Linked DNA regions of Homo sapiens: region 1 is linked to region 2. The links are contacts of gene promoters, found by promoter capture Hi-C in human tissues and cell types (Jung and others, 2019). All regions are on one chromosome and are shown on one strand. The core of a region is centred on a gene start or on the middle of the fragment in contact, and the rest is flanking DNA. Distances in the headings are between cores, read along the strand shown. Region 1 has its middle 17 kb from the start of TOR1B. Region 2 holds the start of PRRX2 (paired related homeobox 2).

The links. The method cuts DNA at HindIII sites, captures the fragments that hold promoters and counts their contacts. A contact is called where the count stands out against the background at its distance.
Region 1: a fragment that was not itself captured here is called in contact with the fragment with the promoter of PRRX2 in region 2 in 2 of the 25 tissues and cell types used here (adrenal gland and lymphoblastoid cells).

The regions. Positions count from the first base shown.
Region 1 is chr9:129,784,805-129,788,438 of GRCh38, forward strand. No RefSeq gene overlaps it. Among named protein-coding and RNA genes, the nearest start is that of TOR1B, 17 kb to the right of the region's middle. The HindIII fragment of the contact is 6,559 bases long and covers 1-3,634 here.
Region 2 is chr9:129,664,214-129,667,984 of GRCh38, forward strand. PRRX2 (paired related homeobox 2) reads left to right here and starts at 1,434. Exons shown (of 4, transcript NM_016307.4): 1 at 1,434-1,913. The coding sequence starts at 1,655. The HindIII fragment of the contact is 13,961 bases long and covers 76-3,771 here.

The sequences.
Region 1 (3,634 bases), core at 202-2,701, 120 kb after region 2:
CCAGGCTGGAGTGCAATAGTGCAATCTTGGCTCACTGCAACCTCTGCCTCCTGAGTTCAAGCGACTCTCCTGCCTTGGCCTCCCGAGTACCTGGGATTACAGGCACCCGCCACCAGGCCCGGCTACTTTTTAGTATTTTTAGTAGAGACAGGGTTTCACCATCTTGGCCAGGCTGGTTTTGAATTCCTGACCTCGTGATCCACCCACCTTGGCCTCCCAAAGTGCTGGGATAACAGGCGTGAGCCACCGCACCCGGCATGCTGCATTTTTAATATGTAAATAGGCCAGGCATTGTGGCTTATGCCTGTAATTCCAGCAATTTGGGAGGCCAAGGCAGGCAGATCACTTGAGGCTAGGAGTTTAAGAACAGCCTGGCCAACATGATGAAACCCTGTCTTTACTAAAAATACAAAAATTAGCTGGGCGTGGTGGCTCATGCCTGTAATTCCAGCTACCCGAGAGGCTGAGGCATGACAATCGTTTTTTCCCGGGAGGCGGAGGTAGCAGTGAGCCGAGATCACACCACTGCACTTTAGCGTGGGCAATAGAGGAAGGAAGGAAGGAAAGAAGGAAGGAAAGGAAGAAAGGAAGGAAGGAGGGAGGGAGGGAGAGAGAAGAGTGTATATCATCTTGCTACTTTTGCTTTTTCCTCAACTCTGACTCCTGAGATTTACTGATATGGACACACAATAGTTCAAGTGTATCCATTTTTAACTGCTATATAATATTTCATTGTAGAACTGAACAATGGTTCATCCATTCTCTTAGTGATGGAAAATTAGGTGTGATTCCAATGTCTAATGTCATAAATCATGTTGCCATGAGCATCCTTGAATGTGTCTCCACATGCAAATGTGTGGGTTCCTACAGGGCAGGGCTCTGCACCCTCCTTGCCATGAAGGTCACAGATGAGCAGCAGGAAGGTCTGCAGTAGCCAGAGCTGTGGCCCAGGTAGCTCCTCTGCCAGCTCCTCCCCTAGCCTCACTGGCTGTACAAATACCTACACTGTCCACATGAGCCATAATGTGATAAAGACTCAAAGAGTGGAATTTCTGGGTTGCAGGGTACACACATCTTCAGCTTCACTGGACATTGCCAAACTGGCCTTGTCTTCCTCCTTTGCTCTTTAACTGACTTCAGAGACTCTTGTTGTCCCCAAGAAATCTGGGAGCTGCCATTTCCTGGGTATGTAGCTTAGGACTGAAGATCATCCAACCATCTATTCATTTCACAAATATTTGTTGACATCTGCTGTGCCATGAGTAATAAAGTTGTTTGTCTCTGACCCAGGAGACTCATGTCTTTGCCAGCCACCATGTAACTGGCAGGCTAACTTGTGGGCTTGCAAGCAGGGCAAAATATCAGACCCTTCCCAGTTCTTGACAAGATGCTCTCCTTTTCCCGCCATGTGTGAAGCACTGGTCCAAGCCCTGGAGGGTGCAAAAGAGCCAAATCCCTATCTCTACAAAAAAAAAAAAATTAATTAGCTGGGTGTGGTGATATGTGCCTAGTTCTAGCTACTCTTGAGGCTAAGGAGGGAGGACTGCTTGAGCCCAGGAGATTGAGGCTGCAGTGAGCCATGATCATACCACTGTACTCCAGCCTGGGCAAGAGAGTGAGACCTGTTTCTTAAAAAAAAAAAAAAAAAGTCCCTATGGATACAACCCATTAACCTCCTTCTGCAACCTCGGATTGGTACCTTGGTGGTTGTCGGGCCTCTGAGCCCAAGCTAACCCATCATATCCCCTGTGACCGGCACGTATACATCCAGATGGCCTGAAGCAACTGAAGATCCACAAAAGACGACATTCCACCATTGTGATCTGTTCCTGCCCCACCCTCAACTGATCAACTGACCTTATGACAATACACGCTCCCCGCCCTTGTGATAATGCACTTTGTGATATTCCCCCGCCCACCGCCCTTAAGAAGGTACTTTGTAATATTCTCCCCGCCCTTGAGAATGTACTTCCTAAGATCCACCCCCTGCCCACAAAAAAATTGCTCCTAACTCCACTGCCTATCCCAAACCCATAAGAACTAATGATAACCCCACCACCCTTTGCTGACTCTCTTTTCGGACTAGCCCGCCTGCACCCAGTTGAAATAAACAGCCTTGTTGCTCACACAAAGCCTGTTAGTGGACTCTTCACACAGAAGCGCGTGACAGTGGTGTGTGATCCCTTTGGACAGCAGCTTTCCTTTCCCCACTATGTTTTGCTTTCTAAGTGGGTTGACAGCCTTTGAGTCCACAACCACCGGGAGGTCAACGGGCGTGAGCAAGTCTCAGGGTAAGAAGAAGCCAGCTCAGGGATAACCATATCCTGCAGAGAACTCACAGGTGAACAACTGAGCCTTGATTGAAAATAAATGACGGCCAAGGTCACACAGTCTATAGCGGCGTGGCTGAGCTTCAGACCGGTTATTCCCACGCCCAGTGCTTGGCCATCCCGTTTGTGATCGGTTTGGGGCTGGAGGTGGCACTTGGTTAGGGAACAATAGTGGGAGACCAGAGTACTGTGTATTCACAAACCCAAAGAACAGGAAGCTTTTCAACAGCAGCAGTAGCAATGTCCTTGGGGTGTATTTCAACAATACTGCACTTATAAAGAATTCTCCATGGGACAGCAGGAGTATCTCAGGTAAGGTTGGGAGAGCTTGGAGGAACGAAGCCTGGAGGGATTATGAAAGCAAAATGGACAATATGTGCCTGTATTTCCCCCAGCACAGCACTGATCCCACTGGACTGTAATTGCTGGGGACTTGCCCCTCTGCCCCCACCTCCCGACCAGGTGGGAGTCCTGGTGGGTGGTGCCAAGTCTTTCTTATTGACTGTTGAGTCCCAACACCTGACAAAGAGGAAGCCCCCGGCCACAAGTAGATAGGGGATGCATTTCCAACGTGAGTAGAATGGATGATAGTGGCCCAGAGTTCAAGGAGAGAACTTCCTGGAAGACTTGGCTCCCACAACAGCCACCCCCTTATTTATTTATTTATCTATTTTTTTTTTTGAGACGGAGTCTCACTCTGTCACCTGGGCTGGAGTGCAGTGGTGAAATCTCAGCTCACTGCAACCTCCACCTCCCAGGTTCAAGAGATTCTCCTCCCTCAGCCTCCCAAGTAGCTGGGATGACAGGCACCTGCCACTACACCCGGCTAATTTTGTGTATTTTTAGTAGAGACAGGGTTTCACCATGTTGGCCAGGCTGGTCTCAAACTCCTGACTTCATGATTCGCCTGCCTCAGCCTCCCAAAGTGCTGGGATTACAGGCGTGAGCCACCGCGCCTGGCCGCTAGCCATCCCCTTATTATCTCAGATTCCTGCACGTCCGTCTCACCGTACTTGCATCCCACACCATGGTCACTTGTTTACTGGTCTGTCCTGAAAGCTCTCTGCTGAGAGGCCTCCACACTCATCATCTTAAGTGACCCTCAGGCAACCCTATAAGGTAAGGACAACCATGCCACCAACGAGGAAACTGAGACCTAGAGGGGTTGGGCAACCAGCCCAGGGTCATGTTCATGATCATGGCAGAGGTGGAATTGGAACCCAGGCATTGTGCTCCTCCCTGTTGGACTGTTGGGGGAAAGAGTCAGGACACTGGGGTGGAGCCCCCACATGAGCCCAGCGTCT
Region 2 (3,771 bases), core at 184-2,683:
CACCTCAGCCTTCCACAGTGCTGGGATTACAGGCGTGAGCCACTGTGCCCGGCCTACTCGGCCTCATTTTGAAGTCGATTCCTTTCCAGCGCGGGAGGGGGTGGGGGCGGACACAAACAACACACGCTGTGAGGATTAATGTATTATAATGTATTGCTAGGCTTTCCTTAAAAATAGTGTTCCCGGCTGGGTGCGGTGGCTCACGCCTGTAATCCCAGCACTGTGGGAGGCCGAGGCAGGTGGATCACCTGAGGTCAGACGCTGGAAACCAGACTGGCCAACATGGTGAAACCCCTCCTCTACTAAAAATACAAAAATTACCCGGGCATGGTGATGCACACCTGTAATCCCAGCTACTCGAGAGGCTGAGGCAGGAGAAGCGCTTGAAGTCAGGAGGCGGAGGTTGCAGCGAGCCGAGATCACGACACTGCACTCCAGCCTGGGCGACAGAGCCAGACTCTTGTCTCAAAAAAATAAAAATAAATAATAATAATAAATAATAAATAAAAATAATGGTCCGCAGGCTTTCAGGGATGTGTGCGGGCCGGTTTTCCATATGGGAACAGGGAAAGGATGTGCTGAAGGCTTCCTCCGGTAGGCGACTTTGGCTGATGTGACTTTATGCCTCGTAGTGAGGGCAGGGCGACAGAGGGACGGGCCGGTGAGCGGCTGTCCTGGAGAAAGAGCAGTGGCATCCGGGGGGCTTAGGGTCTCAGGTCTGCTCACTCCGCACATCTTTTCTGTGCTTTCATTGAAAAACAAAACTGAAACAAGAGCGGACACCTAAGTCTGCCTCTCTCTTTCCTGTCACCCGTCTCAGGCTGGCTGTCCTCTGTGTGTGCGCCAGGAATTCTGCAACGAAGCGCCTGCCTCTCCGCTTGGTTTTCCTTGGGGAAGGGCCTGGGGCCTCCTGGGGGGTGGGCACCGGGTGTGTGGGTGTGTGTGGGGGACCTGGCAGGGAGCAGCGGGGGAGAGGCGGGGTGGGGGGTCGCGTACACCCCAGGAGCCTGAGGATGCGCTGCCTGCTGGGAGAGACAGCCTTGGGGCGGGTGGTGTGCACAGAGCTCTGTCGGCCAGCGCGGGCGGGCGGGGCCGTTGTTGGGGGCGCTGAGGCGAGTGAGGCTGGAGCTGGGAGTGGGGGGCTCGTCGCCTTCGTCTCTGGGCCGCCCCCTCCACCTGCGGAGGCGATTGTAAAGGGAAGGGGGGAATCCCTCTGCCATCACCTCCCAGATACTTGGGGGATGGAAAACGACAAAACACGGAACCTCCCACTCCCTAAAAAGTGGGTGGGGAGGGTGAAGGGAGGACACCCCTTCCCCGCCCCCAGCGCCAGCAGCCGGGGTGGGGGCGGGCGAGGCGCGCGGGGAGGAGAGGGCGGAGGAGAGGACGGGGGGCGAGGTTTGCTTCAAGAAGGGGCGTGTGGCCGGCGCAGCGCGTGCACCAGCGGCTCCGGAGCGAGCGGCCGTGGCTGAGAAGGGGAGGGCGGAAAGTTTGTTTCCCCGACGTCAGCGCCGGGCGGGCCGCGAGGCTAGGAGGCGGCGGGAGCTGGGCAGAGCGCGGGGCGGCCGGGGCTCTCGCTCCGACCCGCGCCCGCGACCCTTCCTGGGACCCGAGCCCGAGACCCCCGCCGGCCCCCCCGGGGCCGCTCGCGGGCATGGACAGCGCGGCCGCCGCCTTCGCCCTGGACAAGCCGGCGCTGGGCCCGGGGCCGCCGCCGCCTCCACCCGCGCTGGGGCCCGGCGACTGCGCCCAGGCGCGCAAGAACTTCTCGGTGAGCCACCTCCTGGACCTGGAAGAGGTGGCGGCGGCCGGGCGGCTGGCGGCGCGCCCCGGGGCCAGGGCCGAGGCGCGGGAGGGCGCAGCACGGGAGCCGTCCGGGGGCAGCAGCGGCAGCGAGGCGGCGCCGCAGGATGGTGAGTACGGCCGGCCAGGGACGGGGGTGGCGGGGCCGGGGCCGGGGCCGGGGCCGGGGCGCGGGGTCCGGGGAGCCGGCGCGGGGCGGGCGAAGATGCAGGGCGCGTGGTCGGCGGCAGGACTTCTGGGGGCGCGTGTAAGTGACGGTGGACGGCGGTTGACCAGCACTCTGGGCTGGGGGAGGGGGACCCTCTTCGGGTCTTGGGGTGCGTCCCCACGGGGAAGTGCGCTGCCTTCGCTCCCCAGTATTCGGCTCCCGAACAGCCTGGGAAGTGGGTGTGGCTGCTGCCGGGTTACAACTGGGGAAACAGAGACCTGAGTCGGGCAAAGCCGCTGAGCTGCACGTTGGGGTTTCAAACCCGCCCCCTCCCGCACGAGCTAGCGCCGCCCCAGCTCCTCCTCGGTCTTAAGTTGGGCTCTTTGGGGGGCGAGGGTGCCTGCCCACCCCCCCCCACCCTCCAGTTTGCCCCGGGAGCAGCTGCCTCGGTGGAACGGCCCAGCCAGGCCTCTCTTCCCCGGCAGAGGTCAAAGGTCATCAGGAAGGGGCTTTAAAAACAAACAACCCACCCAAGTGGCCTTTTTCAAAAAGTGACACAGGATGGCAGGGTCCTGAGCCCTTGGTAAGAAGGGGAGGGACGGGGAGAAGATGGAGAAAAAGCAAAGGCCCCAGCCCCGGACGGTTCAGTGGGGGAGGGGAGGACCGGAGTCCTCGCGGCTCAGCACACACTAAGGATGGGGGCCCGGTGATCTGAAACCAGGCCCCTGTCCCCTAGCTCTGGGGATGGGCCGGCCTGCTGGGGGCTCTGGGCCCCTGAAGTGTGCCCGCCTGACTCCAGCAGCCCTCCCACCCGCCCCGGGGGACCCTGTTCCCGGCACCAGCCTCCAGGTCTCAGGGTGCCCAGGCTGGTGGCTGCGTTCCTTGGCTTTTCAGAGACAGGAGGTGCAGGGAAAACAGAGGTGGCTGCAGCCTAGTCTGAATCCATGTGCGTCCACGAGGACGCCTGCGACACGCCTGCCTTTCACGGGGCACCTTCTGCCAGCCTGTGGCTGAGATGAAGCCACTGGCTCCCTCATGGCAGCGGCCACCACTCACTGGCCACAGTGGACTGGCCACTGGCTGCACCCTCCGGGGTGAGTGTGAAGCCAGCAGACCTCCCAGGAGTTGGGGTTTAGCTCCTCAGTAGAAAAGGGGAGGGAGATGTCCACTCTGGCCCGGAGGAAAGCAGGTGCCCTCTGGTTTGTGCTGGGGGAATGCCCTGCCGGCCCAAGGTCATTTGAGGACCTCAGCGGCTCTGAGCCGGTCCCCCAACCCCAGGACAGAGGAGAGGTCCCGGTTTACCCTGATGAAGGGAGACTCCAGGGGTTGGGAAGAGAAGGAGGAACAACTTGAAGGTGAAGGGAAAGAAGGAAAGGAGAAGGCAAGGAAAGGAGAGAGAGAGGGAGGAGAGACAGAGGAAGAGGAAGGAAGGGAGAGGAGAGAGGGGTGAGGAGGGAAGGAAGGGGGCCAGGGTGTCTCGTACTCCAGTCCTGGCCAGGGGACGGCCTGCCCATTTCTGACCTACCCCTGCTGTGGGGACAGCCAGGGAAGGCCGTGCTTCTCCCGGACACGGTGTTGGAGGTCTCTGGTGGCGGGTTTCCCCGGGGATCCCAGAACAGCTAGTGTCAGCTGGGGATGTGGGCGCCTAGACAAGGCCCTTGGCAGCCTCCAGGCAGCTGGGTGTGCAGTGGGTCTCCCCAGCAGCTCCCTGGGGCTAGCCACCCTCCTGGAGAGCCCATGAGGCCTCCAGGCCTTCTCCTAAGAAGGGGCATTGGCACACTGGGAGTACCCAGGCATGCTTGGGACACACTGGGTGTGGG